Linked DNA regions of Homo sapiens: all the other regions are linked to region 1. Evidence: promoter capture Hi-C in human tissues and cell types (Jung and others, 2019). All regions are on one chromosome and are shown on one strand. Each heading gives the region's core, a stretch centred on a gene start or on the middle of the fragment in contact. The rest is flanking DNA. Distances are from core to core; before and after follow the strand shown. Region 1 holds the start of OR6J1 (olfactory receptor family 6 subfamily J member 1). Region 2 overlaps REM2 (RRAD and GEM like GTPase 2). Region 3 overlaps TRD-AS1 (TRD antisense RNA 1). Region 4 overlaps SLC7A7 (solute carrier family 7 member 7).

Evidence for each region. The method cuts DNA at HindIII sites, captures the fragments that hold promoters and counts their contacts. A contact is called where the count stands out against the background at its distance.
Region 2: a contact is called between a fragment that was not itself captured here and the fragment with the promoter of OR6J1 in region 1, in 1 of the 25 tissues and cell types used here (lymphoblastoid cells).
Region 3: a contact is called between a fragment that was not itself captured here and the fragment with the promoter of OR6J1 in region 1, in 2 of the 25 tissues and cell types used here (pancreas and spleen).
Region 4: a contact is called between a fragment that was not itself captured here and the fragment with the promoter of OR6J1 in region 1, in 2 of the 25 tissues and cell types used here (aorta and spleen).

What each region holds. Positions count from the first base shown.
Region 1 is chr14:22,641,376-22,649,375 of GRCh38, forward strand. It overlaps OR6J1 (olfactory receptor family 6 subfamily J member 1), which reads right to left and starts at 2,977. Exons shown (of 2, transcript NM_001348233.2): 1 at 2,723-2,977. The HindIII fragment of the contact is 14,040 bases long and covers 1-3,632 here.
Region 2 is chr14:22,886,329-22,894,328 of GRCh38, forward strand. It overlaps REM2 (RRAD and GEM like GTPase 2), which reads left to right. Exons shown (of 5, transcript NM_173527.3): 5 at 286-1,350. The coding sequence ends at 581. It overlaps RBM23 (RNA binding motif protein 23), which reads right to left. Exons shown (of 14, transcript NM_001077351.2): 14 at 6,876-8,000. Among named protein-coding and RNA genes, the nearest start is that of REM2, 7.1 kb to the left of the region's middle. RefSeq lists silencers at 140-209, 450-779 and an enhancer at 2,010-2,109. The HindIII fragment of the contact is 3,706 bases long and covers 1,567-5,272 here.
Region 3 is chr14:22,448,258-22,456,257 of GRCh38, forward strand. The region is part of intron 2 of TRD-AS1 (TRD antisense RNA 1); the gene reads right to left. It also overlaps TRA, TRD, TRDD3, TRDJ1 and TRDJ4. Among named protein-coding and RNA genes, the nearest start is that of TRD-AS1, 31 kb to the right of the region's middle. RefSeq lists an enhancer at 1-229. The HindIII fragment of the contact is 4,427 bases long and covers 1-3,464 here.
Region 4 is chr14:22,794,823-22,802,822 of GRCh38, forward strand. The region is part of intron 2 of SLC7A7 (solute carrier family 7 member 7); the gene reads right to left. Among named protein-coding and RNA genes, the nearest start is that of SLC7A7, 17 kb to the right of the region's middle. RefSeq lists an enhancer at 1,692-1,761. The HindIII fragment of the contact is 4,620 bases long and covers 2,372-6,991 here.

The DNA.
Region 1 (8,000 bases), core at 1,727-4,226:
AGAAAGAAAGAGAGAGAGAGAGAAAGGAAGGATGGAAGGAAGGAAGAGAAAGAAAGAAAGAATGAAAGAGAGAGAAAGAAAGAAAGAAAGAAAAAGAAAGAAAGGAAGGAAGGAAGGAGGGAGGGAGGAAAGAAAGGAGGGAGGGAAGAAAGAAGGAAAGAAAGAAGGAAGGAAGAAATAAAGAAAAAGAAAAAAGAAAGAAGGAAAGAAAATTATTCTAAAAGGATATATATATATATACATAGTTGGATTGAAAATGTATATTAGCAAACACATATTGAGTGCCAACTATGTTGTGGGGCCTGCGATTGATGAAAGGTTGCAGAGATGGTAAAAAAAATTGCATGCCCTCGCACAGCTTTCAGTCTAAAAGAGATGTGAAGAAACCTGATTTCAGAAAAATCACAGAAACAGAGGAAAAATTAAGGGACGGCAAAGTTTTTTCATGGATATTTGTCCTGGGCCATTAGTCTGGAAAGCAAACCAACTACCAGGAAAACTGATAGATTCCAGGGACAAGGTCAAATAGGGCTTCTATACCTAGGAAGGACTCTGGATAGCAGAGGCCACGTAATTACCAGTGACTAAGAAGAATATGGATTGGACTAGGAAAAACAAGAATAATCTAGTAAAGGAAGAGGACTGCAGAAATCCCGAGGACTGAGTTGACCTCTGCCCATCTAAGCTGAGTCAGAACATCAGCCACTCCTGCACAGAACCTGTCCTCACGACCTGCCCTACCTTCCTATAGCCTTGGCACATGGACAGTCTCTCCAGACAACTCACCACATTTGCATTGCCAAGGATCTTTTCTTTCTTAACAGCTTTATTGATATATAACTCAAGTACCATACATTCCACCCATTTAAAATATACAATTCAATAGCTTTTAGTGTATTCACAAAACTGTGTGTCCATCACCACAATCAACTTAAGAATATATATATATATATATATATATATATATATATATATATATTTGAGATGGAGTCTCGCTCTGTCACCCAGGCTGGAGTGCAGTGGCACGAGCTCAGCTCACTGCAACCTCCACCTCCAGGGTTCAAGCGATTCTCCTGCCTCAGCCTCCTGAGTAAGCTGGGATTACAGGCGTGTGCCACCATGCCCAGCTAATTTTTGTATTTGTAGTAGAGATGAGGTTTCACCGTGTTGGTCAGGCTGGTCTCCAACTCCTGACCTCATGATCTTCCCGCCTTGACCTCCCAAAGTGCTGGGATTACAGGGACAAGCCACCATGCCTGGCAGATTTAAGGATATTTTAATGATCCCTCCTCCATTCCCTGGAAACTATTTTTCTACTTTCTGACTATGGATTTGCCTATTCTGGACATTTCATATAAATGAATCATACCATATGTGGTCCTTTGTATCTAGCTTCTTTCACTTACTATAATATTTTCTTTATTTTTATTTTTAAATTTTTTTTAGAGACAGGGTCCTGCTCTGTCAGTGAGGCTGTAGTGCAGTGGCATGAAGATAGCTCACTGCAGCCCCAAACTCCTGGGCTCAAGTGATCCTCCTGCCTCAGCCTCCCAAGTAGCTAGGACTACAGGTGCACACCATCACACCTGGATAATTTTTTTTTTTTTTTGAGATGGAGTTTTACTCTTGTCACCCAGGCTGGAGTGCAATGGTGCAATCTCTGGTCACTGCAACCTCCGCCTCCCCGGTTCAAGCGATTCTCCAGCCTCAGCCTCCCAAGTAGCTGGGATTACAGGCGTCTGCCACCACGCCCAGCAGATTTTTGTATTTTTAGTAGAGACAGGGTTTCCCCATGTTGGCCAGGCTGGTCTCGAACTCCTGACTTCAAGTGATCCATCCACCTCGGCCTCCCAAAGTGCTGGGATTACAGGCGTGAGCCACCGTGCCTAGCCTAATTTTTTTTTTAATTAGAAAATAATTTTACTTTTTTTATTTTTTGAGACAGGGTCTCACTCTGTCACCCAGGCTGGAGTGCAGTGGTGCAATCATAACTCACTACATCCTCGACCTCCCAGGCTCAAGTGATCCTCCCACCTCAGACTCCCAAGTAACTGGGACTACAGGCACACACCACCATGCCCGGCCAATTTTTGTATTTTTTGTAGTGATAGGGGTTTTGCCATATTGCCCAGGCTGGTCTCGAACTCCTGGGCTCAAGCGATCTTCCTGTCTTAGCATCCCAAAGTGCTGAGATTACAGGTGCAGGCCACTTACTATAATATTTGTAAAGGTTCATCTATGTTATAGCATGGATCATTGCCAAGGATCTTAAAGAACCAATGTAGCAGGAGAAAAGGCCACAGCCCCAAGAAGAAGCCCTGACCCCTGGCATGGCAGAAACACACACACACACACACACACACACACACACACACACACACACACACACAGAGAGAGAGAGAGAGAGAGAGAGAGAGAGAGAGACAGCAGTTACTAAATGTAGATATATGCACAGTCTGTAAAATCTAGAAGAATAGTATGGAGGATGAATTTGGACTTGGTCACCAAATCTGGAAATGGTAGGATGAGGGATCAAGACTTAATTCATTTAACTCTCAAAATACATCTTTGCATAAGGTGCAACTGCACCCACTGGAAAATCATTTCCTCACATCAGAAATATTAAGAAGCTTAATGAAGGCAAAGATACACACCTGAGATTATAACAGGAACAGCTGCTCCCAGCCAGCCCCCAAATGCCAAACGATTGGTCTGCACTCACCTCGGCTAGGGTTGCCTTATGCCACCTCCACGGCTCAGTCTGTTCACCTGGGATTTGCTGCCACCTAGGATCTTCCACGGTAATTATCTTGACCAAAAAGCCACAGTGCATTCCACATGAGAGCAGCAGTGTTTGACAGGTGAAATGAGCCCTTCCCAACTCATGTGGATTGTTGCCTTAGCTGTGACCTCTTGTCCGACGAGCATGCACTTGTGTTGTAGACAGCTGGAAGGTACATGTTGGATTTTTACACTGCTGAGGAAGTTACAAGGTATGACATCCATTCCAGCATAGAGAGGTCTACAAATCCTCTTGCCCTAATCCTGAGTGTGTGAGGAAATCACCTTCGGTTAAGCATTGACCAGCTGCACCTCCCACACTGTCTACACAATCTGATCCAGTTGGGGAGAGAAAAGGGGCACTCTCCACTAAGCTCCTGGATGGTGCTTTATTCTCCTCTCCTGCTACCATCTTTCCTGCACCCTCTCCAGTCTTCTGCTCAGCCCAGTCTTCTGGGTGCTTCTTGATTCCAGAGAAAATGGGAAAAGAAACACTGTGTTACCTGATGGACAACAGCCATCAACCTGCTTCTTCCTCTGTCCCCTCAACCCAACGTGCACTACCACCACCACCATCCCCATCATATTTTTTTCAGAGACTGGCAGGCCAAGCGTCCCAAGGACTAAACTTCCTCTAGGGTTACTGCAGGATAGTCAAATCCTGTTGAGGGGTAGCTGGTGCATGAGAAAACTCTGGACTTGAAGCCAAGAGTCTGGGTTCAAGTCCCACCTGTGCCTTTTACCATTCTTGAGACTGGAAAAATTGCCTCCATTTTCATACTATCTGCAAATGAATCCTCATGTGACAAACAGCGGTAATGCTCTTTTCCTCCTCTTCCTCATGAGGTTGAGAAGCACAAAACGGAAAATAAGATAACTCATATGATAATCGATCATTGCCAAGGATCGTGAAGAACAAATGTATGATAATTCATATGATGTGTGAAATCATAAAACACCATATTGCTTTATTTTCTAGAACCCCTCCTATTCTGCAATACTGGAAAAGAACAAACCTTATCTTCCTTGTCCCTACTGAGATATTGATCATCCCACCCTAGAGGGAAGAATACTGTCCCTTCTGGCTCTGGAATACATCTCATCAGGCCCATGCTTCTGCCTTAATCAACTATTCTCCCCTTGGACAGCATATCTGGTTGGCTACAAAGTGTGAAGACAAAGGGAAGATGCTTCTCTACATGGGAATTTCGGTTGCCCAGGATTCCTGGAAATGAAGAAACTACTTCCTGTCCTCCACCATCTGCACTCTACAGAGGAGTCAGTAAGCTGGAAGGGATTCAGCGGGAGGACTCAGAAATACTCACATTTGCCTAAATAAGGTAGAGGGGGCTGGCCCCCAGCATATCCTGCCCACACAGCTGCCCCAGGCTTCCGTGCTGGGCGCTGAGGCTTGCGTTGCTGCAAACAGACTCTGCACTGTCAGGGCTGAAGGGGGCATACTCTAGAAGGGTCCCATGTTTGGACCCCACTTGGGAGGGTTGGGGTGGGATTGGCTCAGGTGAGAGCATGCACTTTCTGAGAAACCTCCAAACATGGGGCACTCCTCAGGGGCACATTACGAAGCTGTCCCTGAACACCAAGCCTGAGTCTGATGCCCCTGAGGCCCACTTAGGAAAGGATGCAAACCTAAACATCTACACTAACAAGAACTGGGAACAGAACACTAGCCAAGATCAACACCCCCAGGCCTATCTCAGAGAGCCTCACAGCATACAGTCCTCCATCCACCCCCTCTCCAGCCCCACTGTGACAGTTCCATCCATCCCTACCACTCCATTTACCCAGGACCCTCCTCTTCAACATCCTAATACACTGTGATCAATATGCCAAAGCTTCAGTAACCTTGCACTATGTGAAACAAAAGGTCCCACACTGCATAGCCTGGCACTCAAGACCCCCTAATCCCAGTCTCCCTTGAATTACCGCCCAGACTCAGCTCCTGTCTTACACATCACCTTGCGCATCTTTTACTTCGGTTGAGCCACTCTATTCACTGTGCCCCACGCTGGCCCTCACTTTCTTACTGCACACTCGGGCCCCAAGTGTCCTACCATTGGGACCATCTTCTCCACCGCCTAGTCTCTAGGCCCTACTCTTGTCCCTTTTCCTAGCCTAAGCTAGGTTCTCCCTCTTTAGATATCCTTTTCTTGCACTTGGAATCAGGAATCCACAGTGTAGAACTGGAGTGTTTTTAACCTTTTTTAATTTAAATATAACACATGTACAGAAAAGTATACAAATCATAAGCTCAATGAATTATCAATAAAGTGAACACATTCATGTAACCACCACCCTGGTGAAGAAACAGAATGGTACTAGCACCCCAGAAATCCTTCTCAAGCTCCCTCCCCACATCCCAGCTGTAACCATTATCTTGATTTCTAACACCATGGATTAGTTTTGCCTGTTTTGGAAATTCATATAAATGAAATCATCTAATAGGTCTTGTTTTGTGTCTGACATCTTTTTCTCAACCTTATAGTTTTGAAATTCAATCATGTTGTGGTGTGTGACTCATTTTTATTGCCATATATTTCATCATTTCATTTGTGGTTATTTAGCCTCTGGGCAGATTTTTAAGTTCCTTGGGAACAGGGATTTTTTTCATAAAATTATTTTTGAATCCCCATAATGCCTAACTGGAAAAGCAAAAGTTGCTCAGTATATATGAATTTTAGTCCAAAAAGCTTCTAATTTCAATCTCACATCATATACCCCCATGAACAGGCAATAGTATCTAACAATTTCAGCAATTTCTTTTTCTCACATCTCATACCCAATTCATTAGCAAATCCCACTGGCTCTACCTTTATATATATGTCAAATCCAACCACTTATCACCATCCCCATTACCCTAGTTCAAGTCACAAACATTGTAGAAGAATAGATAATGAAGTAAAAAGAGTGTTGCAAAATAGTATAAATGACATCATCCTTTTTTTTTTTTTTTTTGAGACAGAGTTTAATTCTTGTTGCCCAGGCTGGAGTGCAATGGCATGATCACGGCTCACCGCAGGCTCTGCCACCTGGGTTCAAGTGATTCTTCTGCCTCAGCCTCCCGAGTAGTGGAATTACGGGCATGTGCCACCATGCCTGACTAATTTTGTATTTTTAGTAGAGACAGGGTTCTCCATCTCTGGAGAACTGGTCTCGAACTCCCAACCTCAGATAATGCACCCACCTTGGCCTCCCAAAGTGCTGGGATTACAGGTGTGAGCCACCGCGCCCAGCCTCTCTTTTTTTTGAGACCAAGTGTCGTTCTGTCACCCAGGCTGGAGTGCAGTGGTGCCATCTCAGCTCACTGCAACCTCTGCCTCCCAGGGTCAAGTGATTCTCATGCATCAGACTCTTGAGTTGCTGGGAGCACAGGCATGCACCACCATGCCCAGCTAACTTTTGTATTTTTAGTAGAGAGGAGGTTTAGCCATTTGGCCAGGCTGGTCTCAAACTCCTGACCTCAAGTGATCCACCCGCCTCTGCCTCCCAAAGTGCTGGGATTACAGGTGTGAGCCACCATACCCAGCTGATTCCATTTTTTAAAGACATATATTAATGCATAGATAAAAGAATATAAGTATATTAACTAAAATATTAATTGTGGTTATTTCTGCATGCCGGGATCTATTCTTTCTTTTTTTTTTTTTTTTTTTTTTTTTTGAGACAGAGTCTTGCTCTTTCGCCCAGGCTGGAGTGCAGTGGCGCGATCTCGGCTCACTGCAAGCTCCGCCTCCCGGGTTCACGCCATTCTTCTGCCTCAGCCTCCCGAGTAGCTGGGACTACAGGCGCCCGCCACCACCCCCAGCTAATTTTTTGTATTTTTAGTAGAGACGGGGTTTCACCGTGTTAGCCAGGATGGTCTTGATCTCCTGACCTCGTGATCTGCCCACCTCAGCCTCCCAAAGTGCTGGGATTATAGGCGTGAGCCACCGCGCCTGGCCTATTCTTTCTTATTTTTATATTATTGTGGTAGATAGGTCAATCATTGTGTTCCCCACCCAGAGCCCTAACTGCAGTGTTCCTACATATGAGTTGGCCACCCATCCGATTGGGTCACAGGTAGGCAAACAACCCAGGAGAAACTAAGCCAAAGGTGGGGATAAATGCAGCAGATTTCCTCAAGAAATTGAACCAAGAGGCACAGAAACTATGATAGACACCTGTTGTTTTAAACATTCTTTCTTATTTTCTTCTATTAACCACTACCTCATTCCCTTTTGGGAAGCAGCTCCTTCTCCATTACACAAACCATGTGATTCTAATGGGACTATATAATATCACAATATAAAGCCAAAGTTCATGAAAGGGAACACGATCTATTATAATATCCATCACCCAACCACAGTGACTGATCCAAAGAGTGACCATCCAACCCAAGGCAGGCCAGGAATCCCTCCTTTAGAATCCATATGTTGGAGCAGAGTTAGGAAAAGCTCTCTCCTCTGGGCTCAAAAGCTGTGATGATGTAACCCTGAGCTGCCAGTAGATCTACACCCAGCCTCACCCTTCCACTGTTGCACGGAGAGAGCCTTTCTGCTGTCTGGATTCATGAGGACAACACACCAATGGAAATGCAGCTAAGAGACAGAGATAGAATTTGGACACTGTTGTGTATGACTGGATCAGTCATGCCTGAGGCCTGCCAACAATATCCTTTCTGATTGTACAAGCCAAAAAATCCTCCGTTTTTCTTAAGTTCATTTGAATTATGGTCTTCTGCAGTCATAAGAGCTCTAACAAACACAGAGACTAATTAGTAAGACGCTGGTGGGTACTTTTCTGAAAAGTTGTGTAGAGTTGGGGCTGGAGTAGGTGCCATAGCAAACCAAAGTGATTCCTAAGCTGAAGTCATAGGGGAGCAAATAAACCATCAGTGATAGTAGAGACCTTGTTTCAAAGAGAAGTGTAACAGTAGCTTAGACTCAGAGACAAGTAATGACTGAGGGAACACGGGCCCACCGGAAAGGATGGTGGCAGCCTGAGCTGCTGACTTTCTTGTTCCAATCCCTGTGTGCCTTGTTCCTACTCTTGGATGCCCATGAGAGACTGCCTGATGTATTCTTTCTACAATCTTACACATACACACACACACTCACATACACACAAGACTTTAGTCAACTAGCTTGAGTAAGCCTCTGTTTTTTAAATTCAAAGTATCAATGAGTAAGAAAATAGTGTTCATACATCACATTTCTAATCAG
Region 2 (8,000 bases), core at 2,170-4,669, 250 kb after region 1:
GCACTCACTTGCAATCAGACCCAGGCTAGGGGGACACTCCCAATGCCCCACTCGAGGATCCTGAGAATCCCTTCTTGTCACTTCCCCTCACCTCTCTCCTAGGCCTCCTTCTCCCTCTCCTTCGCACCTCCACAGACCCACCATATGAGCTCAGCCATGTTCTCTCGGTTGCAAGATTCACTAGTACCAATCCCTTGCCACCGCACGCCCAGGCCCTCCCTAGACCCACCCTCGCCCCGGGTCCCGTACAGCCCAGCGGGCGCCTGAGCCGGTGCCTTCCTGCAGAGGGCCGCCACCTGGCCGGGACGCTGAGCTGCAAGCACATCGAGACGTCGGCCGCACTGCACCACAACACGAGGGAGCTCTTCGAGGGCGCGGTGCGCCAGATCCGGCTGCGGCGGGGCCGAAACCACGCCGGAGGCCAGAGGCCCGATCCGGGCAGCCCCGAGGGCCCTGCGCCACCTGCACGCCGCGAGAGCCTCACCAAGAAAGCCAAGAGGTTCCTCGCCAACCTGGTGCCGCGCAACGCCAAGTTCTTCAAGCAGCGCTCCAGGTCGTGTCACGACCTCTCGGTGCTCTGAGCCGCGGTCGCCATGGCCACTGCGGTCGCCATGGTCACCGCGCCCTCCGCTCGCCCCCCCTCGCCCCGCCCCGCCCCCGTCCGGCTTCCTTGGTGGAGGCCGTCTAGGAAACCAAAAACTCCCAGGATGCCCCGGTGTGACCGCCGGGGGCGGCCCGGGGCCGCTCGGCGGCACCTCCACACCCGCCCCAACGCGTTCTCTGGAGCTTTGGGCCTCAGGGCGCCTAGAAGGCGAGGACGCAGACCTGAAGGCGGCCGGTGAGCGGGGCGGGTTCTGCTGGGTCGGGAAGAAAAATAATTCTGCAAGGTATTTTGTTTTTTATTAATTCGCGCTTGGCCACCTCATCTGTAAAGAGATTCTAAAAGCAAGATCTGGAAAAGTGCTTCGTAGACTCCTTGACGGAGTTTGCCTCCTTTGTACGCTGCGTGAACATGCCTCACCTTTAAGAGAGTCTTAAAGGTAAAGACACGAAAACACTTCCTCCAGGGACCTTCCCGAAAACGTTCTGGCTCTCATCTGGTGCGGCATGTGTCCACTTTGCCTTTAAGGAGTTCTTAAAGGCAAGGGCCTGGAAGTGCTGTTCCTGAGATGGATTCTCTTGACTTACCAGTCCACCACGGCACTTCCCCTTTAAGGTTATTAAAGGTAAGGGGTGGACAGACTTTCTGCATTCAGATAATGAGCAGTGGCAACCCCTTTTGGCCAGGGCCAGGGGGGCACCAGCAAGGGGCCACCCTTTCCCTTTTCAATAAATAATTTTTGTACTGCCTCTGTTCACTTTTGACTCTGTTCTTGGAGTCTTTGGGGAAGGAATGGGTGTTGATGGAAACTGCTGTTACCCACCAGAAAACTCAGGCCCAGAGGAGCAAGGAACCTAACTCTCTAAGGAGGCTCTGGAACTGACTTGGCCTGGGGTAGTCCATGTCATAGGGCCACAGGCCCTTACAGATAATCAGGTCCACTTCTTGCGTTTGCCGATGAGAAAACAGGCTTGGAGAGGAACAGGGACCTCCTAGAAGTCATTTGTAAATTAGTGACACAGTGGGACCAAATCTCTAGATTCTGAGCCTCATCTCCTTACCCCCACTCTATCCTGCAGGGAACAGGCTAGAGGCTACACTTAGCTCCCAGCGGTACTCAGCTTTGACTTGGGCTGGTTCAAAGTGGGGCCCATATCCACCAGGGAAGCCCATCAGCTGTGGCGTGATGGGGGTCTGTCTGTGCCTCCTCTGGCAGGGCTCCACAGCCCCAGCTGTCACCTGCAAAGCCCGTGTGAGTACTGAAACTGTCACTGCCTCCCCTGGGGACGCCCACGCCTGCTGCTGCCTGAGCCATGAGTTTGAACAAAGGGAGCAGAGGCAGCAGCTCCCCTCACCACCCCTAGACATACAATACAGCTACCTGAGCACCTGAGGGCCAGCCTCCATTCTACCCCACACAGCCTCCCAGAACTTGATGGAAAGAGGGTTGCAATGCTTCCTGAGTCCTTGTAGCTGGGGAGGAGCCAAGGGGACCATCCCAGCATGGGTACTTATAATAAGATGAATAATGGCCCTATCCTTAGGACTTTATACACTTTATCTGTTAATTCCTTAAAGACTATATAAGGTCCAGCCTGGGAAACATAGTGAGAGCCAGTTTCTACAAAAAAAAATATAAAAATTGGCCAGGCATGTGGCTCACACCTGTAATCCCAGCACTTTGGGAGGCTGAGGCAGGAGGATCATTTCAGTTCAGAAGTTTGAAACCAGCCTGGGCAACATGGCAAAACCCTGTCTTTACAAAAAATTAGCTGGGTGTGGTGTCATTCAGATAGTCCCAGCTACTTGAGAGGCTGAGCTGGGAGGAACCCTTGAGCCAGGAAGTTAAGGCTGCAGTGAGCTGTGATTGTACCACTGCACTGCAGCACGGGCAACAGAGCAAGACCCTGTCAAAAAAAAAAAAAAAAAAAAAAAAAAAAAAAGCAGTGCACCTGTAGTCCTAGCTACTCAGGAAGTGGGAGGATTACTTGAGCCCAGGAGTTCAAGGCTGAAGTGAGCTGCAATCACTGCCTTCCAGCCTGGGTGATAGAACGAGAACTTGTCTCTTTAAAAAAAAAAAAAAAAGGGCCGGGCGCCATGGCTCACACCTGTAATCCCAGCACTTTGGGAGGCCAAGGTGGGTGGATCACAAGGTCAGGAGTTCGAGACCAAGCTGGCCAATATGGTGAAACCCCATCTCTACTAAAAAGTGCAAAAATTAGCTGGGCGTGGTGGCAGGCGCCTGTAATCCCAGCTACTAGGGAGGCTGAGGCAGGAAAATAGCTTGAACCCAGAAGGCAGAGGTTGCAGTGAGCTGAGAACGTGCCACTGCACTCCAGCCTGGGCGACAGAGTGAGACTCCATCTCAAAAAACAAACAAGCAAAAAAAAAAAACCTATATAAGGTGTTACTACCTGTTTAACAGTAGAAGAAACAGAGTGTAAGTAACTTGCCTGAGGTTACCCGGTAAGCAGTAGAGTTGGGATTTCATGTCTGCTTGATACTTTTTTTTTTTTTTTGAGATGGAGTCTTGCTCTTGTCACGCAGGCTGGAGTGCAATGGTGCGATCTCCACTCACTGCAACCTCCACCCCCCGGGTTCAAGTGATTCTTCTGCCTCAGCCTCCCGAGTAGCTGGGATTACAGGCACCCACCACCACGCCCAGCTAATTTTTTGTATTTTTAGTAGAGATGGAGTTTCACCATGTTGACCAGACTGGTCTTGAACTGCTGACTTCAGGTGATCCACCCACCTCAGCCTTCCAAAGTGCTGGGATTATAGGCGTGAGCCACCGCGCCCAGCTCTGCTTGATACTTAATGATGATTTTATCCAGCTTTGCATCTGAGGCTCCCTTTCCAATAAGGATGGGAGGAAGAGAAAGAGGGGACAGCAGTCAAGATGCGGGGACACAATGGGCAGGGCCATGTGCAGTGGCTGTGGTGAAAGGTCCAGAGAAATTACATGGCTGTAGTGGAGTAAGCAAGTTCTAAATTCTGAAGACCATGAACAGAGGCAGCTCAAATTTTAAAACACAGGAAAACACACTGGGCCCATTAAGGGACCAGATGGCTGTACAGTTGGGTTGAAACCTCAGGGACATGAAGAGGAGGGGTAAGAGATGAGCATGGAAAAGAAGGTTTGGAGTCCCACTGTAAAGGACCTTAAATGCCAGGAAAAAGAGTTTGTGCCCAACTCTGTAGGCAGGGAGAGTCACTGCAGGTATCTGAATGTGGAAGTCATGATTAGGATGGTCTTTTGGGAAGAGGAGGCTGGGAGAGGTGTGTATGGATTGGAGCTGCAGAGGCAAGTACTGAGGAGCTGAGTTTAGGGACCAGTTAATAGTGATACATACAGAGGATAATGAAAGGCCATCCTGAGGGGGGTGGCAGTGGGAAAGGAAGGAGGCATGGGTTTGAGCATCAGAATCAATGGGACTTGGCAACTTAGTGGATGAGTATAAAGAGAGGAAAAAGTTGTAGGTGGTGAGAGGATGGTGCAGAACTTGGAGTAAAGGGGCAGAGGAGGTAGTGAGAGTAAGGAGCTCCATTTTGGAGACACTGAATTTGAGATGCTAGAAGAACATCTATATAGAGTTTCAGCAGCTCTCTAGAGTTGAATCTGAATCTGAAATTCAGAACAAGTTGGGACAAGAGAAACAGATTTGAGAATAATTACCATAAAGATAGTAGTAGAAGAGCAAGGAGAAAAGGTGACCTGTGCAGTCACATAGGGCCCTAAGCTTAGTTTAATGTTCTGCTGTTATGTTCTTAAAATTCTTCGAACAAGGAGCCCTGTATTTTCATTTTGCAAGGGGATCCACAATTATACTAAGGGAGAAGGTGCAGTACAGGCTGGGATCCTTACCCCAGACTACTGATGGAGTCTGCGTCTTGTGAAATGGTACATACAATCTGATGTATTTGTGTAGTCATACCTGTGTCTGAGAATAGGGTTCATGAATTTCATCAGATTCACAAAAGGGTTTGTTACAGGCCAGGCACAGGATGGCTCATGCCTGTAATCCCAGCACTTTGAGAGGCCGAGGCGGGTAGATCACCTGAGGTCAGGAGTTCGAGACCAGCCTGGCCAACATGACGAAACCCCATCTCTACTAAAAATACAAAAATTAGCTGGGCATGGTGGCACATGCCTGTAATCCCAGCTACTTGGGAGGCTGAGGCAGGAGAATTGTTTGAACCCAGGAGGTGGAGGTTGCAGTGAGCCGAGATCGTGCCACTGTACTCCAGCCTGGGCAACAGAGTGAGATTCTGTCAAAAAAAAAAAAAAAAAAAAAAAAGATGGTACTGGCTGCTTCTGGAAAGGGGAACTGGGTGAGTAGAAGACCAGGATGGGAAGCTGACTTTTCATTGTATGCCCTTTTTCTTTTCTTTTCTTTTCTTTTTTGAGACGGAGTTTCACTCTTGTTGCCCAGGCTGGAGTGCAATGGCACGATCTCACTGTAACCTCCGCCTCCTGGGTTCAAGCGATTCTCCTGCCTCAGCCTCCCGAGTAGCTGGGATTACAGGCATGTGCCACCACACCCGGCCACTTTTGTATTTTTGGTAGAGATGGGGTTTCTCCATGTTGGTCAGGCTGGTCTCAAACTCCCAACCTCAGGTGATCCGCCTGCCTCAGCCTCCCAAAGTGCTGAGATTACAGGCCTGAGCCACCGCGTCCAGCCTGTATGCCCTTTTTCTACCTTTGGAAATTTTTTTTTTTTTTTTTGAGACAGAGTCTTGCTCTGTTGCCCAGGCTGGAGTGCAGTGTGGCACAATCTCAGCTCACTGCAAACTCCACCTCCTGGGTTCAAGCGATTCTCCTGCCTCAGTCTCCCGAGTAGCTGGGATTACAGGTGCCCACCACCACGCCCAGCTAATTTTTGTATTTTTAGTAGAGACGGGGGTTTCACCATCTTGGCCAGGCTAGTCTTGAACTCCTGACCTCATGATCCACCCACCTCAGCCTCCCAAAGTGCTGGGATTACAGGCGTGAGCCACCGCGCCTGGCCTACCTTTGGAACTTTTAACTGTGTCATTTAGTACCACTTCAAAAATGAAACGAAATAGGCCGGGCACAGTGGTTCACGCCTGTAATCCCAGCACTTTGGGAGGCCAAGGCCGGTGGATCATGAGGTCAGGAGTTCAAGACCAGCCTGGCCAAGATAGCGAAACCCCATCTCTACTAAAAACTACAAAAATTAATCAGGCGCAGGGGTGGGCACCTGTAATCCCAGCTATTCGGGAGGCTGAATCGCTTGAACCTGGGTGGCAGAGGTTGCAGTGAGCTGAGATCATGCCACTGCACTCCAGCCTGGCGACAGAGAGAGACTCCGTCTCAAAAAAAAAAAAAGAAAGAAACAAAATAATTTAAAACAAAGCCTTAGGGGTCCAGAGAAAGAAGAGGGAACAAGGAGATCCTGGGGATATATAGATGGAGAAGGTGGAGAAGCAGCTGCCAAAGAGGTAGTGGGAGAACTAGGATTGAGCCTGTTGTGACTGCTGCCAGAGGAGGGGTTTCTAGGAGAGTATCACCAATGGTCAGATGTGGCCAGAGAGGAGGATGAGGAACAAGAAAGGCCCAGTGCCTTTTACGTGGCAGAAGCTTAAAACATGTCTTTCGTGTATGGAAGACCATGATGGCAAGACCTCCCCCACGAGGGGAGCCACACACCATGAGCCTCCCTCCCCCAACTCAGCCAGTCCCATCAGCCCGACCCATCTGTGTGTTCCCTCCAGACGCCTACAGGGAATAGCTCAGAACAGACGGAAGCTGAAGCCAGGCTCCCGCCAGACTTGGGAGAGGTGAGGCCTTCTCTGAGAGCCAGGCCATTCTCTCTTTCTCTCTCAAGGCAAAGTAGAGCCATTGATCTTGGCTGGGGTGAGAGGTCAGCAGAGGGCACTGGGACCTGAGCTGCCATGCCAGGTAAGGTCCTTTCTGTCCTCATGCATCTCTTAACCACTGCAATTTTGTCTTGGAGTCCGTGTTCCCTTACCAGCCCCTGCCCAGCCCCTGCTACTCCCACTCCCCTTTGCCCACAAGACCGCCTCATTGGCCCAGAGCATAGACTTTGTGTGCTCTCCCCTGAGGGTCAGAGGAACGGGGGAGTCCTGCATCTGGAAATTTTTCCACTCTGGGCCTCTGCCTACAGATGAGCTTTTAGGCCGTGCTGCATCTGAGCCCTCTAGAGAGACTGGAACAGGGGCTCTTCTCTTCTGAAAGACTGCCGGGGTCATACGTGGAAGTCCTCTGGGTTAAACCCTCACTCCCAGGAAGTTCACACACACACATCTTTTTATTAATCTAATATAGTTTCAATCCACATCAATCTAAGTAAATTTTCCTGGACATTTTAATCTTTCATCCACAAATGCTAGAAGACATTTTGTTTCTCTCAAGTACTAAACATCTGCAATATGCCAATCAGTGTGCCGGGCCCAATGGGGAAAACAAATACAAATAAGACACAATTTCTGCCCGTCAAATAGCTTGCAATTAAGCTGGGGAGATGGATGAGGTGATACAGCACAAAACAGGCAAAATAGCAGCAAACAATACCACATTCTATCTAACTGGGGGCTACCTCATGTGCTCCAGGAATTCTGAATGGAAGAAACAGTAAATTTGGAAGACATATTTTAGAAACTGGGCCTTAAAGGATATGTAGGCTATAGATAGTTGAGAGAAAGAAGGAAAAGCATTCCTTGTGGTCAAACTACATGAGCAAATGCACAGAGAAGAAACAGTGGGCAGCCCACCACATGAGGAAAAGGCCCTTCCTATAAAGAAGGCAGCAAAATTTGGGTGGATGGTGCAGTCGTCAAAGGACACAAATGCCGGACAAGAGCATACTGCTTCTCAGGCCTTTATCATCTCGGTGACTCCCTGATGGATATGCTTAAGGTCCCTTTTCATCTATTTGAATATTGATGTCAAGTTTCCACAGCTTAGTGGCCTTGAAAACTCCAGATGTGAATGCAAATTCAGTAAGCCCTTGAATGCTTTTCAATTAGTGCTCAGGATGTTTCCTGGATGGGGGTCTGTGGATGAAGTCACTCTTAACCTGTCTGGTTTGCTGAACTCAGCTATGCTATCCCAACTCTAAAATGAAGAATACCTACCTTATAGCGAAGTCATGAGGACTAAATAAAAGAGCAAAGATCTTTGTAATTTCTCAAGCATTATACAGAGAAGCGGTGGAAGTAGTAATGCCTTTTGCAACCTATGTCCTGGCCCTTTATTTAGGCATCAAAGCAGCTTGCTAAACTCTCAAAGCACAGCACCATTTGGAGATAAAAATTTAAGTTATGGTCTACAAAGTCCAACGTGCCTTCCATAGGACTCACGGGTAACACTTTTTTGGGTTTTGTCATCTGATGGAAGGTTGGGGGACAGATTGGC
Region 3 (8,000 bases), core at 1-2,500, 190 kb before region 1:
TGAGGAGAGGTTTTGAGAAGGCAATGACTGGGTCAAAACTCTGAGGTCAAACAAGATTAAAACTGAAAATCATCCGTTGAATTTGGCCAGAGCTGCTGCCTCTGATTGCTCAGGTTGTGCCTTCACAAGGGCATCTGGCAGAGAGGAGAAGTGGGGCTAAAATTCAATGCGTGCTCTGCCGCCAGCCAAGGCCCTGATGTGGCGTTGCATCTTCCGGAAAGGGAAGGCCTTTTATAAACCACACAAAAGTGCAATCTGTTCGCCAAGCTTGAACCCAAGGGGCTATCTCTACATTCACCCAGCAGGGCTGCCTTTTCTAAATCGCACAAAGCACCATATGGGCTACTGGCCTGAATTTAGCAACTGGGAGGAGGTCAATGGAGGGGACACAATTTTAAATTTACATGAAAACCCTTTGTAAACTGTATAACACTATTCAAGTGTAAAGCAGGAAGAGGTGATTCAGAAGCTTAGCAGGTGACAGGAGAAATTACACTGACCACAAGCCTTTTCTGCCTAACCCACAGCATGTAGAATCTCCATGAGACGTTTAAGTACCCGACAAACTCCTCAGTGGGAAACCATTTGAGGGCAGACTGGCCAGAAAGCACAGATGGGAATGGATGTGATTATTTCTAAAAGTCCATTCTAGTCACAAACCCCAAGGCAGATCTAGCCAGTGGGGCAGAAGAGCCCCAGACAGAAGCACCTGAGCCAGCTTGGCCTGACCTAACTGTCAGGACCCTTTGATCTTGCTGGAGCTTGACTTGGAGAAAACATCTGGTTCTGGGGATTCTCAGGGGCCATATAGTGTGAAACCGAGGGGAAGTTTTTGTAAAGCTCTGTAGCACTGTGACTGGGGGATACGCACAGTGCTACAAAACCTACAGAGACCTGTACAAAAACTGCAGGGGCAAAAGTGCCATTTCCCTGGGATATCCTCACCCTGGGTCCCATGCCTCAGGAGACAAACACAGCAAGCAGCTTCCCTCCCTGCTTTGGGGCCTGGAAGGGATAGCAGGAAGTTGACTGGACCAGGGAGATGACCACAGCTGCTGACCTCTCACTCACTGCTGTTCTTCCTTGGGTGAAACTGGCATTTCTACATTTTCTTACAGCACATTTGGGGAATACAAAAAGGCCTTTCTTAAAAACTATTCTTGTCTTGTTTTCATGTTGATTCTATTGCAAAAGAGAGTTATATGAGCCACCTCATACGGAATTTCTAAATTCAAACCTCTAGAGAGATTTACCCAAGTGCTTTGCTTTGCAGTTTGGGAGGATGGATTTGAAGAGAGATTGATTTTTTTGTAGGCAATCACCGGCCACAGTTGCTCATTCTAAAGCTGACTGCTCTGTAAATCACCCAGTGCTTCATGCCACCCTTTCTCCTCTTGCTGTGCCACACGTTATCTGCCTTTAAAGCAGCAGCACTGGTGTCTGTAAAGGCCTTAACCCTGGAGTAGTCATGGAGCCAAGACCCACCCCTTTGACAGTGCCAGCTTTCCAACACAGAGAGCTGAGTATGGGTCTAGGAAGTGAGAGCAATGTAAAACAATAGAAAGCAACAGTTCAGAGCACTGCATCAAGTGTACTGTGCTGGAAAGGTCCGCCATAGGAAATATGGTCCTCCATACTCCTCAGACAACAGCCTTCCGAAAGCAAACCTGTCCCTACCTGCAGATGATTAACCATCTATGAACCGGCTGGGTAAGCAACAAGTGCCATCTTTCATGGAGCTGAGCCTTAAAGATCCTCCAGTCCTAAAGCTGACGGGAAGAAGGTAGGTGGGAGCAGCGCTGAGGTTTTTGGAACGTCCTCAAGTGCTGTGACACCGATAAACTCATCTTTGGAAAAGGAACCCGTGTGACTGTGGAACCAAGTAAGTAACTCATTTATTTATCTGAAGTTTAAGGTTAAGGCATCCTCCATCTAAGGAGGCAGAAATAATCCTGAAATGGGAAATGGGTGAAATAGCTAGCATTTAGGAGGACTCCTGGGAAGAGGTGAAATATGGTTAATCCTTTCCATAGGAGAGGAGCAGAAGGTGTCTGTAAAAAAAGAGTTTGGGGCATATGAAGGGACCCTTCTGGCTCAGAGGAAACAGAGAACTCTGCCCAGTCCATCGAATTTGGGTCAGGCTGTAGAAACCACAGAGTCATTGGCCCAACTCCCTGAGCAGAGTCAGAATGGACACAGAATGAAGCTGACTTGAGTCCAGGTGGTTTTACCAACGTGATTCCAAACGTTCTGACCTCCCTTATGCCAAACACATCCTCCTGGAAGAGCTCAGAACTGAATCCGTCTCCTGGGCATGGAGGGTGGGGCGAGCGCAAGTAGTCCCTGGTGTTGCGATATTTCTCTTTAGAAGAAAATAACCTGTTTCAGACATTTGTTTCTAATTGTTTGAGCTGCAAATGAAAACTAGGTTACTAGTGAGAAATATGGGACATTCTGGTTCCCACTGAGACCAGATTCCAAGCAGGACAAAGTGAATGTGTAGTGCTTCCAACTAAGAAATGCTTTGAAGTCTCCAGGACACAGCCAGGAGAGTTCCCTACCACTCACCAGTGTTCATCGTTTTTGCAAAGAGTATATGGTGCCAGTCACTTATTAACAGTTATGCAAGAATCAATGCTAAGGTTGTTGAAGGATTGTGCTCAACACAGAAGGCATCTTTGGTGTCCTTTCAATGACATTTGAATTCGACCGTGTCTTGCTAAAAAATAAAATAAAATAAGACAGTGGTCTCCACCTGGCAGCAGATTCCAGTTAGATAGTACATATTAATCTTAAGTAAGAAAATGTAATAAACCAATACAAAAACCCATTTCGAAGGTCCTAGGGAAGTCTAGCAATAGGGGTCAGTGGTCCCAAATCTGCCCAACCAGCTGTTGGAAAAGAAACAGCATGCCCTGCCCTGGCTGGGACTTTGGCACTCAGCTCAGGTTTTTCAAGGTAAAAGAAGGCTCTAGAGAGATAGGGTGGTGATGGTGGGCTCTTCTCAGAGACCAAATGGGGACAAAGCAGTTCCAGGCATATGCAGGCAAGGAGGCTGAGGAAGGGGAAGGACAGGCATGAGCAACCCAAGACCTCACACACTGCAGGGAGAAAAGGGGCAGGGGCCCTGCCGTCAGGGAGAAAGACACCCAAAGTTGTGCTAGTGGAGTCAGTGCAGAGATGTTCAGACTTTTTTAAAAAATCAACATCTTAGTAAGATTTTGAAATTTTAACTAATTTGGGCCTTTGCCTTTAGACCTTATTATCCTTAAAATTTTCACTAAAATAAGTTTATCCACAATTCCAACAAAGCTAAAGACTGATTATCCTAATTTCCCTTTGTTTGCCAAGTAAGGGATGAATTAAGTTCCTCTGTTTACCCATTTACTTGGTCCATATTTCCCTAACTGCGGAGTGCACAGCACATATTTTCAGATGGAGAGACGTTCTTTTTATTTGCATGGATCTATCTTTTAATGGCTATCAGAATAGTACAACTAGGCTATCAAACCCATGTGATTTCAAGTTTCCTTTTAATTATATTTTAAGTTAAAAAGTGAATAAATTTTTTTAAATTATTAAGCAAATTATGACAGATGACTATGACCAAAAAAGCGGGGGAGATGTGCTTAATTGAAGTTTGGGAAGTGCTGAACTTCATATTGGTGCATTTCATCAGCCTTTGAAGTGAAAAAGTAAGGGGTATCCAGAGGGGGCACAACCTAGAATATCTTTGAATGGCAGCTTCTATTTTTAAGCTACCAACATTGGATTAAAGAGACTGCACTGCAAACCCAGGGCCTTTATCTTCTCAGAAGCCTTTTGATGCTTTTTTTTTCCTTGGGAGCTTCTTTCAAGTTCTTACTTACGGAGCTCCTGGGTAGCACAAAACTAACAGAACAGGTCTATACAAACCCACAGCTGTAGATCCCACACTTTAGTCCTCTGGATACAGTAAACCTGGAGAGACCACTTAGCTTCGTAAAACAGAACAGAGAAACAGGACAAAACAGCATGGAATAAAGTAATGGAAACGTGTACTTCTATGGTAACAACAGCGGCAGTGGGGAAAAGAGGCATGGTCGTTGGGAACATCTGCGTGGAAGTGGGCCATGTGATGGACTTTGAATGCAATCTATTATTGTATGTCACAATTATGTAACTACCACTTTTTGAGTGCCTACCATTTATTAGGCCACTGGGCTAAGTCCTTTAATGATTATCACTTCACTCAGTCCTCACTACGATCATGTGGAATTGAGGTACCATGACTTGCGTTTTATGGATCAGGAAACTGAATCTTAAAGGGGTTCCTCAAGATCACACAGCTTAGTAAAGTCATCATTTGAATCACCTGCTTGATGCCAGCATCTGTGCTCTTAAGAAGTCTGCTCTTCCATCAGGGCTGCAGCTAGACTAGGGCATGTGTGGAGGTTTTTCCTGCCTGGCCCAGCCTCTGCCTCAGGTCTCTAATGAGCTCCTTTTCAAGCTGAATCAGAAACAACAGTTATGCCACTTCCCTTCCAGTGCCATCCCCATCACTTCTCTCACCAAGGAAGAACTTCTGAACCCCCGCCAAAACCAGTTACCCAAAGCAGCATTCCCCTTCCCCAGGAGGAGCCAGGTGAGGCCCATCTCTCACATTACACCCCTGGAGACCCAGGGTCCCTAAATACAGAAAGGTCCAGACGATGATCAGAGCATCACTCTTTCCCTCAAGAAAAGGAGTCCACATAATTCTGGCCTCATCAAAATGTTTCTCAGATTCCAAAAGATGACCTTCCCATTCCTCCAGGCCCACTAGCCCTTGGCCTGGCATCTGGCACTCCCTCTCACTCCCAGTCAGCATCTCCCAGAACAGAGCCTTTGCACCTGCAAGTCCTTCCACCTGGAGCCATTTTCTCCCAGGGACTCACACAGTTTTCTCCCTCCCCTCCTCCAGGTCTCCACTCAAATGTCATTTCCAGTGAATCCTTTCCCTACCACCTCATGTCACTCTGAAGACCCCTTTCCCTGCTTTATTTATAGCCCTCATGTCTACTTGAATCTTTATATGCTCGTTTACTGTCTGTTTCCCTTGCTCTGTGAGAGAAAGGACTTTGAGTTGTTTCTTACTGCACCTATAAGTACACTGAAAGCACTAAACAAACATTTGTTGAATGAGTGAATGAATAAATAAAGGAATGAATGAATCAGAGAAAAAGTCAGCTATGGTATAAAGCAAAAGAAAAGAAAAATGAAGGGAAGCTGGTAACCTACAGAGCCGAGCCTGAGTCCTGGCTCTGCAACCCATCACAGGTCTCTGCCACGAAGTGCCAGGCACTGTTCTGGGTGCCAGGGAATCGACATGAACAAAGCAGGCATGAACTTCTGCCATATTGGAGCTTATTTTCTAATGGCAAAAGACAGATGGTAAACTAAATAAATAAATAAAAAATATATACAGTGCGTTAGGGTGGTAATAAGCCCTGAGAAGAAAAATAAAGCCGGGAAGGAGAATAAAGAGGACTAGTGGGAGGGACCAGCATGCAGTTTTAAACAGAAGAGTCACAGAAGGTCTCACTGGAAAGGTGACAGTGGAGCAGAGACCCGAGGAGGTGGTAAAGTGAGGCATGCAGACCTCTGGAGAGAGAGCACTTCCAGGCAGAGGGGACACAGGGCTGCCTGGGGTGTGTGGCTGGAGGAGGGGAGGGAGTGATGGGGAGAGAATGTGAAAATGAGGTCAGATTGGTGATGGGTTGGGGAGAGGGTGGCTTGTAGGCCACTGTAAGGACTACTGCTTTTGGATTCGAAAGGGAAGATTGGGGAGTAGAATGGAAGTCACACGTAACCTAGAGAAAAGATCTAGAGAGACAGAAACCTGAATACCAGTCCTAACCCACGGCCCTAAGAAGTGGGCACCCTCTTCATATCACATAACACCAAAAAATAGCTTCTGTTCTTTTTCAGCAACCTGTCCCAACAATCCTTCCTGCTTGGGAGCTCTGTTCTTAGTGCAATTACATTCCCCACGCTTCTAGTAAAATGTATCTTCTCTGAGTTTAGCCCTAATAAACATTCTAATAATTACATCGAGTCTCTCTAGTTCACAGATGCTGTATCTAATCTTATAACCTATAATACGGAAGATGTTATCCTCACTTCGTAGAGAAACCAGATAAAGCTCAGTGAGTTTAAGGAACTTGGCCAAGATTACACACTTGGAAAGGGACAGAGTCAAAACTAGGTTTTGGATCTTCTGACATCCTTCTACTTTACAACGACTAGGAACCACCCTTCATGTTAGTGATTCTCCAACTATCATCTACAGTCTTTTAAGGATTGTAAACTGATCCGAAAAATCCATATTCCCTCCTTGGTTTTTATGAGTGACATACAGGCAATCTCATAGATTCTGATGTTCACGTATAACAGAAATTAATTTAACTGTCACTTCTAAGTGTGAGAGTGTCATTGAAGCTTGCTAAAATTTGATATGCATGAATGTGTTATTAAAATGGATGGAAAAACTTAATTCTATTTTGTACTAAGCAGTTTGGCTGCTGCACAATACTTGGCAATGATGCAAAACTCTCAGATATGAAATAAATTTCCCCTAAAAGGTTGGAATGCATGGTATATATAACCTGCTAGGTCCCTGCCTCACCTAAGTGTAGCCCGAAGGTGGAGAACCACTGCTCTATGACCAACGTTCCACCCTTCTTTCCTCTTGATCAAACCAAAAAACATCTTTCCAGTCTATATTCATTCTCTCTTATTTGAGCACAAATTCTGTCAGATTGTAATATGGGCAAAAGCTTGGATTTCTATTTGATGCTAGAGTCACCTCTTGTTCCATCCTGAAGGACAACCTCTAAGACGGAGGAGAAGAGGCTAGGCCAGATGGGACAGAAAATCACATGGGATGAATATCATGTGACTTGGCAACTGGGGCTAGGGTTGCCGTAAAGGGAAAAGCAAGGTAGTTTTTGGATTAGGTATGTCAGCTGTGCCAGACCCCTGATCTTTGGCAAAGGAACCTATCTGGAGGTACAACAACGTAAGTAACCTACTTTTCCTTCTTATGACCACTATGTTTGGCAATTACATTTGTTAAATATTTTTCTAAGTCACCAGGTTAGGAAGCAGTGCTCCAGTAGGTAATATAGCAAGGGATGGCTTGAGGAACAGGAACTGAGTTTCCGATAAAATCCAGGATGGCGTCTGTGCTTCAGTGAGCCGTCTTGATCCATTGTCCTTCCTAGAGAGTTTCTATTCCCTCTACCTGGCTCCAGAAAGCTACCCTCCTCAACATCTATGCATCCACCATGTACAGATCTAGGCCACCACTGTGATCAGACTCACATGACAGCACTTCGGGGGGTGGACACAAGGTGAAATGAGGAGCACGCTGAACCAGTAAATCAGAGGCCAAGTTCCAATCTGTCCAATGCATTAACTGACAATGCATTAGCTGACAAACTCTGTGACTTAACTGCACTGAACTATAGTTTCCCTATAGTTAGATGAAGGATTTCCAAGCTGTCTTCCAGCCCTTGCCCACTATGATCCTGATTATCCCCAGACCAATTCTTATGAACAATTGGGAGGAAAAGCAAGGAAGCCCAATGGTGTGACTGTCCTATTACCCAGTAGGAATTCTGTGATTTAATGGAAAAAAAAAAAAAGGCACTGGAAAGGGAGTGAAAACTCTCCCTATGCATCCCTTAATTAGCCCTTGTGTGATCACAGAGGTTTGGAAAAATGATGCCTTGAGGCTCCTTTCAGTCCTACCATCTATTACTCTGGTTCAGGGGCTGGAAACTGGAAATTGAGTGAAGCCCAACTCAGCCACTCACTTAACCACCTTTACAGTGCCTTTGTCTGTGAGATGGATCTAAAAATATCACCTCATAGAGTTTATTTCAATAACTTTGTTGAAGTAGTATAAACACCAGCTGTTTAAGTAGGAAAGTATTTATACAAATCATAGTCATCTGTGATTATTATAGTCCTTTGGA
Region 4 (8,000 bases), core at 3,432-5,931, 160 kb after region 1:
CAGAAATTCTGGGGTGGAACCCAGGCATCGGCATGTTTTTAAAACTCCCCAGGTGACTCTGAAGCATGGTGACAATTGAGAACGGCTTTTCCCACCTCTAGTGACACAAGACCCTCATCAATTCTCCTCAAAAGCAATTTTTCTGCTTCCTTAATTCTCGTTCTCCAAGCCAATTCTCATCTCATTCTTCTCCCCAGTGGTTCAGATTTATGTAGTCAGGGAGTGGGAGTGATGAGTATTGTTTTCTTTCTTTCTTTTTTTTTTTTTTTTTTTTTTGAGACAGCGTCTCACTCTGTTGCCCATGCTGGAATGCAGTGGCACAATCTTGGCTCACTGCAGCTTGGACCAAATGGGCTTAAACAATCCTCCCACCTCAGCCACCTGAGTAGCTGGGACTACAGGCATGCACCACCATGCCCAATTAATTTTTTTTTTTTTTTTTTGTAGAGACCAAGTTCTCCAGACTGGTCTCCTGAGCTTAAGCCATCCTCCTACCTCAGTCTCCCAAAATGCTAGGATTACAGGTGTGAGCCACCGTGCCCAATCTGAGTATTGCTTGCTTGCTTTCTTTCTTTCTTTCTTTCTTTCTTTCTTTCTTTCTTTCTTTCTTTCTTTCTTTCTTTTCTATTCTTTTCTTTTCTTTTCTTTTCTTTTCTTTTCTTTTTTAATTGAGACAGAGTCTCACTCTGTCGCCCAGGCTGGAGTGCAGTGGTGCAATCTCGGCTCACTGCAAGCTCCGCCTCCCGGGTTCACACCATTCTCCTGCCTCAGCCTCCCGAGTAGCTGGGACCACAGGCGCCTGCCACCACACCCAGCTAATTTTTTGTATTTTTAGTAGAGACGGGTTTCACCATGTTAGCCAGGATGGTCTCAATCTCCTGACCTTGTGATCTGCCCGCCTCGGCCTCCCAAAGTGCTGGGATTACAGGCGTGAGCCACCGTGCCCGGCCTTGTTTTCTTAATTCTCCAGATGATTCCAATCCACAGCCAGAGTTAGGACCCACTGCTGCCCAGCATCTTCCGCAACCTCCTCTAGGCTACCTGCCCAGCTTCTTCTGAGGCAGAGAGAAAAAGAAAGGAACATAGAAACATAGAACATAGAAAGGAAGAGAGCAAGGATGAGCCCCCAAAGGGACTTGATGATCAAAGCAGCATAAAGGTCTACCCCTTCACTGCTGGTCAAGAGTTTGTTCCAAAGTTCACAACAAACCCACACTAGAACCCAAGGCTCTGATGAAAGCCTATTTCTTGAGGTGAATATGGGCCAGAAAAGGTAAGTTTCTTCACCTCCACCCTCAGATGGCTCTTGGGAAAAGCCCTCTGAAAAAGGCAACTAGCTTCCAAGTAGAAGGTTCAAAGGGCAAAAGTCCGTTGGGGGGCCCAGCATCTGACTGTTCCACCTCATTAGCCACAAGTACATGAGATCAGTCATTCTGGTACCAGGAGAAGCTGCACGAGGACACCTGGCCAAAGCTCTCAGACACACAGAGATCCAAAGTCCTTCACAGCCCACAGCGGCTCTGGCAGACTCAGGGTAAGCTGTCTGCCCCCTTCCCACAGCAACCCTCAGCCCCCACCAGCACCCTGAAAGGCAAAAGCACGAAATACCCTTCTCAGCCAAGTTGAACCTGGAATCATATCTTCTGTTCATTCATCCAGCCAACATTTATTGAAGAACCCACTACATGCAATTCACTGTGGCCACATGTGTATGACACGAAGAATCTTTGCCTGATCCCTGAAGAACAGTACTCTGTAAACAAAGAGCCCTGAACTGCCAGGTACTGCTGACTCACTGGTACAGGGGACATACTGAAGGCATAGATGGTAAAAATGTCCTGGTAGTGTCCTGAATGGCAAAACAACTAGGTCTCAGTGTGGGCAAGTGTAGGTAAGGCAAGAACAGTCATGTCCACCTGTGAACAGTGGGCCAAAACACCTTGGCTCTGAGGAAAGGACAGTCGGGTGGAGCTGGACTTCTGGACACCTATCCTCTTGCTGAGAGGAAAGTTCCACCTCTCTTGCAAAACAGAAAGAAAAGGCTCAGCCCTCCTTTCTGATCCCTGAGCTATTGTGAAGTAAAATGTAAACTGCTTTTAAGTCATCCAAAGACAGCATGCGGAAGGTAAAGCTTTTAGAAATCAATAAGATGCATATGATATGAATATAACTTGCAGTAATAGATACTATTTTTAACTGACAACTGTGTGCCAGGTCACTATGTACTTACACCTATCTTCTAATTTAATCTGACAGAGAGTAAGTTTTATTATCTTTATTTTACACTTGAGAAAACTGAGGTCAGGCAGTGACTAGCTCCAAAGCCTACATCCATTCCACCACACCACATACCTCCCTAACTGTATGCAAGAATGTGAGACGGGGAGTGGGATTATCTCCCCCTGTGGTAATGGAGATGCCTAGAACTTCAGAGCACTGGGGCAGTCCACGAATTTCTCCAAGAAGTCAGAATAAGCAGCTTCAGGAGGTGCCATCTGCACACCTCTCTGTTTGGGAAAAGCAACCATTTCTACTACCCTAGACAGGACAGTGAGGCTCCTTCAAAACTCAGAATTCCTTCACTCACTCACTCATTCATTCATTCATTAAGCTTATATTGAGTACCCACTGTGTTCCAGGCCCTGTGCAGGCTCTGAGATTAAGATCCAGTCTCCAGCCTTCACTCAAAAGTGGACATTGACAATTACAAGAATCAGTTGCTATGAAAGTCACTGAGAGGCAACCTATCTACCCACACGTCACTGGAGGAGTGAATGGGGTGCAGGCAAGCACCAGGATCACTGTTATCTGGACTGAGTGCATGGAGGCTGCTGCTGGGGTGGGGGAGGGGAAGCAATATTCCTGACAGAGAGGGCAAAACGTTATTACCCTGACAATGAAATCAGCAATGAATGAAGTCAACCACCCGTATAAAAAAACCTACTTAAGCAATAACCAGTAAATGATTTCAAGGTCTATTAGTAATACCAGACTATCTAGGGCTGTAGTTCAACAGCTCTAAAGGTAGACTATGCCTGCCAAAAGACTGCAAACAACTGGCAGGAGCAGAGACTCTGTGTTTGCTCTTTGGAAACTGTCATGATTTGAATAGAAAAAGATGAAAATATGGTACAAATATAGATCACATTTCTATGAGGTAGGGACCCCATTTTATAGAAGAGAGAACTGAGGGCTGGGCACGGTGGCTCATGCCTGTAATCCCAGCAATTTGAGAGGCCGAGGAAGGTAGATCACCTGAGGTCAGGAGTTTCAGACTAGCCTGGCCAACATGGTGAAACCCCATCTCTACTAAAAATACAAAAAATTAGCCGGGCATAGTGGTGGGCACCTGTAATCCCAGCTACTCGGGAGGCTGAGGCAGGAGAATCGCTTGAACCCAGGAGGCGGAGGTTGCAGTAAACTGAGATTACGCCACTGCACTCCAGACTGGGCAACAAGAGTGAAACTCTGTCAAAAAAAAAGAAGAAGAAGAAGGAGAAGGAGGAAAAGGAGAAGGAGAAGGAGAACAAGAGGAAACTGAGGCTAATAAATTTGACCTAGCATTGATTGAATCCTGCCTGATTCCACGCTGTTCACCACCATGCACCAGTGCCTTCCAAAGGGATAAGGGTATCCCCTACACTGTTCAAGAAAAAGAAGTCTGACTCAGGGCACCCAATCATTACAGCCATGGAGAAGGCATCATTGTAGGGTAGAGATATTTCATCCAACTTTTCCAGAAACATACCTCAACCAACCTAAGGCAGGCTTAACTCTTTTTCATAAAATCGTCCCTCAACCTTGGTCCTTTCCTCTAACAATCACCCTCCATGCTTTCAGAATCATTCATCTGAAGAGCATGTCTACATTCCTTCCCGTTCCTGGGTCTCTACAATGCAGTCTGAGATGTTGCAACTCCTTCCTCTTTCACCCTGCAAAAGTTTTCCTTTGACCCTCTGAGTTGCCAATTCCAAATGACATTTTATTCCTTATTTTAAACTTAATAGCTCCTCCAGAAAGGCTATTTTTGAGTGTAAACCTGCCACCTCTGGTATGCTGCCCTTGCTCTGTGCTCTCACCTCCCCAATTAACTACACTGCATTAGAACAGTGTACATATGTCTCTCCCACCCACGAGAGCTGTGTGAGGGCAGAGAGTGGATAACAGTTATCCTTGTACCCATGGGCATAGTCCTGAACTAGACACACAGTAACACTTAATACATTTTGCTGGGTGAATAAATGATATTTCTGAAACCTGATTTCACCCTCACTGCCCTGAAATTTCATTGCCTTAGGAGAAAGCCCACATGAAAAGCCACCAGTGACCTTCATATCAATAAATCCAATCAACTATACTCAATCTTTACCTAGCTTGACCTCTTAGCAGATTGGACACAGGTAGTCATTCATTCCTTCTCAATTCACTCCCTTCCACTCACCATCTTCCAGGTTTCCACCTATCTCTCTAGATGCTCCTTCTCCATCTTTTCACAAAATACCTATCCCTCAAATGTGGGTATTCCTCAGAATGCTTCTAAGCCCCTTTGTCCTCCCTTTCTACATCTTGTCCCAAGGTCATCTCATCTGTTCCTGTGGTTTCTTTTTCTTTTTATTTTTTTCTTTCTTTTTTTTTTTTTTTTTTTTTTTTGAGACAGAATCTTGCTCTGTCACCCAAGATGGAGTGCAGTGGAGCTGTCTCGGCTCACTGCAACCTCTTCCTCCAGGGTTCAAGCGATTCTCCTGCCTCAGCCTCCAGAGTAGCTGGGACTACAGGTGCACACCACCATGCCCGGCTAGTTTTTGTATTTTTAGTAGAGACAGGGTTTCGCCATGTTGGCCAGGCTGGTCTCGAACTCCTGGCCTCAAGTGATCAGCCCACCTCAGCCTCCCAAAGTGTTGGGATTACAGGTGTGAGCCACCGCCCTGGCCTGTTCCTATGGTTTCAATAACCATATATACAATGATGACTCCCAAAAGTATATCATCAGCCCAACTGTCATGATTCTAGATATATATGAATATTCAACCACCTACTGGACATTACCAGGCACATCAAACTCAACATGTCCAAAACTGATTCCATCAATTTCTCCCAAACCTACTGCACCTTCGGTGTTCCCCATACAAGTAACTGGCGTCACCATCCACCCATTTATGCAAGCCAAAGACCTGGGCATGTTATTGTCATCAACAACTTCCACTCATATCTACTCATAGTCCAAGTCTTAAGTCTCCCTGTCCCCAAAACATGACTCTAGTCCAAGCCACCATCATTTCTCACTAGGATCATAGCAGCAGCTTCCCACCTGTCTCCCAGCTTTCAATCCTACATAGAAAAACTAATCTTTCTTAAACTCACAAATTCTAAAATCTAAATCACAAATGCCACTCTTCTGCTTTTAAAGGCCTTAAGAGTTTTCTCATTGCCTTAGAAGACAGCCCACCAAACTCCTTAATATAGTTGGTGCAATAGATTGGAGTTTTCCAATATGCCTCAACGTCTCCCATCCCATATTCCTTTCTTACAATGTGACTTTGACACTCTACCCATCAAGAGGCAGGGTCTGTACCCCTCTTCTCGAAACTGGATGGTCTTCTGTGAATGCCTCTACCTATAGAGTATGACAGAATTGACACCATGCAACTTCAGAGACTAGGTCATAAAAGGCAATGCAACTTCCACTTTGGGTGCTACAACACTCATTCTGGACGCTTTCAGCTGCCTGCATAAGCAGTCTGACTGCCCACGAGTCACCACGCTGTGAGAAAGCTCAACACAGTCCATACGGAAAGACCACATGGAAAGACTGACACAATTTGATAAAGAAGGCCGGGTGCGGTGGCTCACACCCGTAATCCTAACACTTTGTTTGGGAGGCCGAGGCGGGTAGATCACCTGAGGTCAGGAGTTCAAGACTAACCTGGCCAACACGGTGAAACCCCGTCTCTACTAAAAATATAAAAATTAGCCGGGCGTGGTGGGGCACGCCTGTAATCCCAGCTACTCAGGAGGCTGAGGAAGGAGAATTGCTTGAATCTGAGAGGTGGAGGTTGCAGTGAGCCGAGATCGCGCCACTGCACTCCAACCTGCACAACCGGAGCAAGACTCCACCTCAAAAAAAGAAAAAAAAGAAGCCCAGATTGTCTGCAACTTCCTCAGCAACCGTTTTTCCAGCTCCTGTCACCATCTGCTGCAACCACATGAGGGACCCTGACCTAGAACTGTCCCACTAAGCCCTTCCCAAATTTCTAAGCCACAGAAATCATAAAAAAAATGACTACTGTTTTAAGACACTACGTTTTAGACTATTTGTTATAGCACAATAATAACTAGCACAGCTTATAAAGCTTTGAACAACCTATGCCTTGACTCTATTTACCTCTGCAAGCCAACTCTCAACCTTTTCTTCCTGAAATTCAACACTGCAGCCCACCCTGAACTCCTTTCAGTGCCTGAAAGGAGCACTTCTGGCATTTAGGTTTTCATACATTCTGTTCTTGCTGCTTGGAACACTCCTCTTCTACTCTTGATTAATTCTTCTTCGCCATTCAGGTATCAGCTCAAACTTCTACAGGAATGGTTTCTAAATGCCTAGGTTAGGACTGGTCTCCTCCTGTGCCTTGTTCTACCTTGCAAATCACAACACCATCACAATCCATTAAAACCCTGTATCAGAGGCCAGGCACGGTGGCTCACGCCTGTAATCCCAGCACTTTGGGAGGCCGAGGCAGGCGGATCATGAGGTCAAGAGATCAAGACCATCCTGGCCAACATGGTGAAACCCCGTCTAAAAAATACAAAAATTAGCTGAGCATGGTGGTGCATGCCTGTAGTCCCAGCTACTCAGGAGGAGACAGGAGAATCTCTTGAACCTGGGAAGCAGAGGTTGCAGTGAGCTGAGATTGCGCCACTGCACTCCAGCCTGGTGACAGAGCGAGACTCCGTCTCAAAAAAACAAAACAAAACAAAAATCCCTGTATTGGGTTGCCCATCCTGACCCCGGCATGCACCCATGCATGCGGTCACACACACCCACGCACACACATAAAGTGCTCCAAAAAGACAATGACAGTGCAGGGAACGTGGCAACCTCTTCGCAAATACTTGTTGAATGTTTAATCTCCAACCCTATCTCTTTCCTAAATTCCAAAGAGCATATCTGCCTACTATGCTAAAAATAAATTCCAAATTCAACATGCCCCCATCCTCCTCCTCACAGTAAATGATATCACTGCCTACAAATTGTCTAAACCAGAAACATCATCTCTTCATTCAAAGACTATTTATTGAGGGCCGGGCACGGTAGGTGGCTCACGCCTGCAATCCCAGCACTTTGGGAGGCCGAGGCAGGCAGATCACTTGAGTTCAGGAGTTCGAGACCAGCCTGGCCAACATGGTGAAACCCCATCTGTACTAAAAATACAAAAATTAGCAGGGCGGGGTGACATGCACCTGTAGTCCCAGCTACTCAGGACACTGAGGCAGGAGAATCCCTTGAACCCGGGAGGCAGAGGTTGCAGTGAGCCAAGATCCTGCTACTGTACTCCAGCCTGGGCGACAGAGCAAGACTCTGTCTCAAAACAACAACAACAACAACCAAACAAACAAACAAAAAAAATATTTATCAAGCTTCTCTGTTTCCTTGCTGGGGATACAGTGGATTATAGATAGGCACAGCTCTTCTGGCACAAAACTTACAAGATGGTAGATGTTTTCCTTGACACTTCCCTCTCCCTTATACTTGACATCTTAATAGGTCTCATTGGTTGTATTGATTATACCTTCTAAATTGTGCTCAGATCTATCCTTCCTTGTCCACCCCAACTGCCATCACCGTAGTTCAGGTTTTTGTCATTTCCTGCCTGGATTGCTACAAGAGCTTCCTAATAGTGTCTCTGCCTCCAGCCTTGTCCCCTAAGTTCCACCCCAGCTATATCACTCCCCTGTTTAAAGTCCTTTAATGGTTCCTCATATGCTTTGAATAAATTCTAAAACCC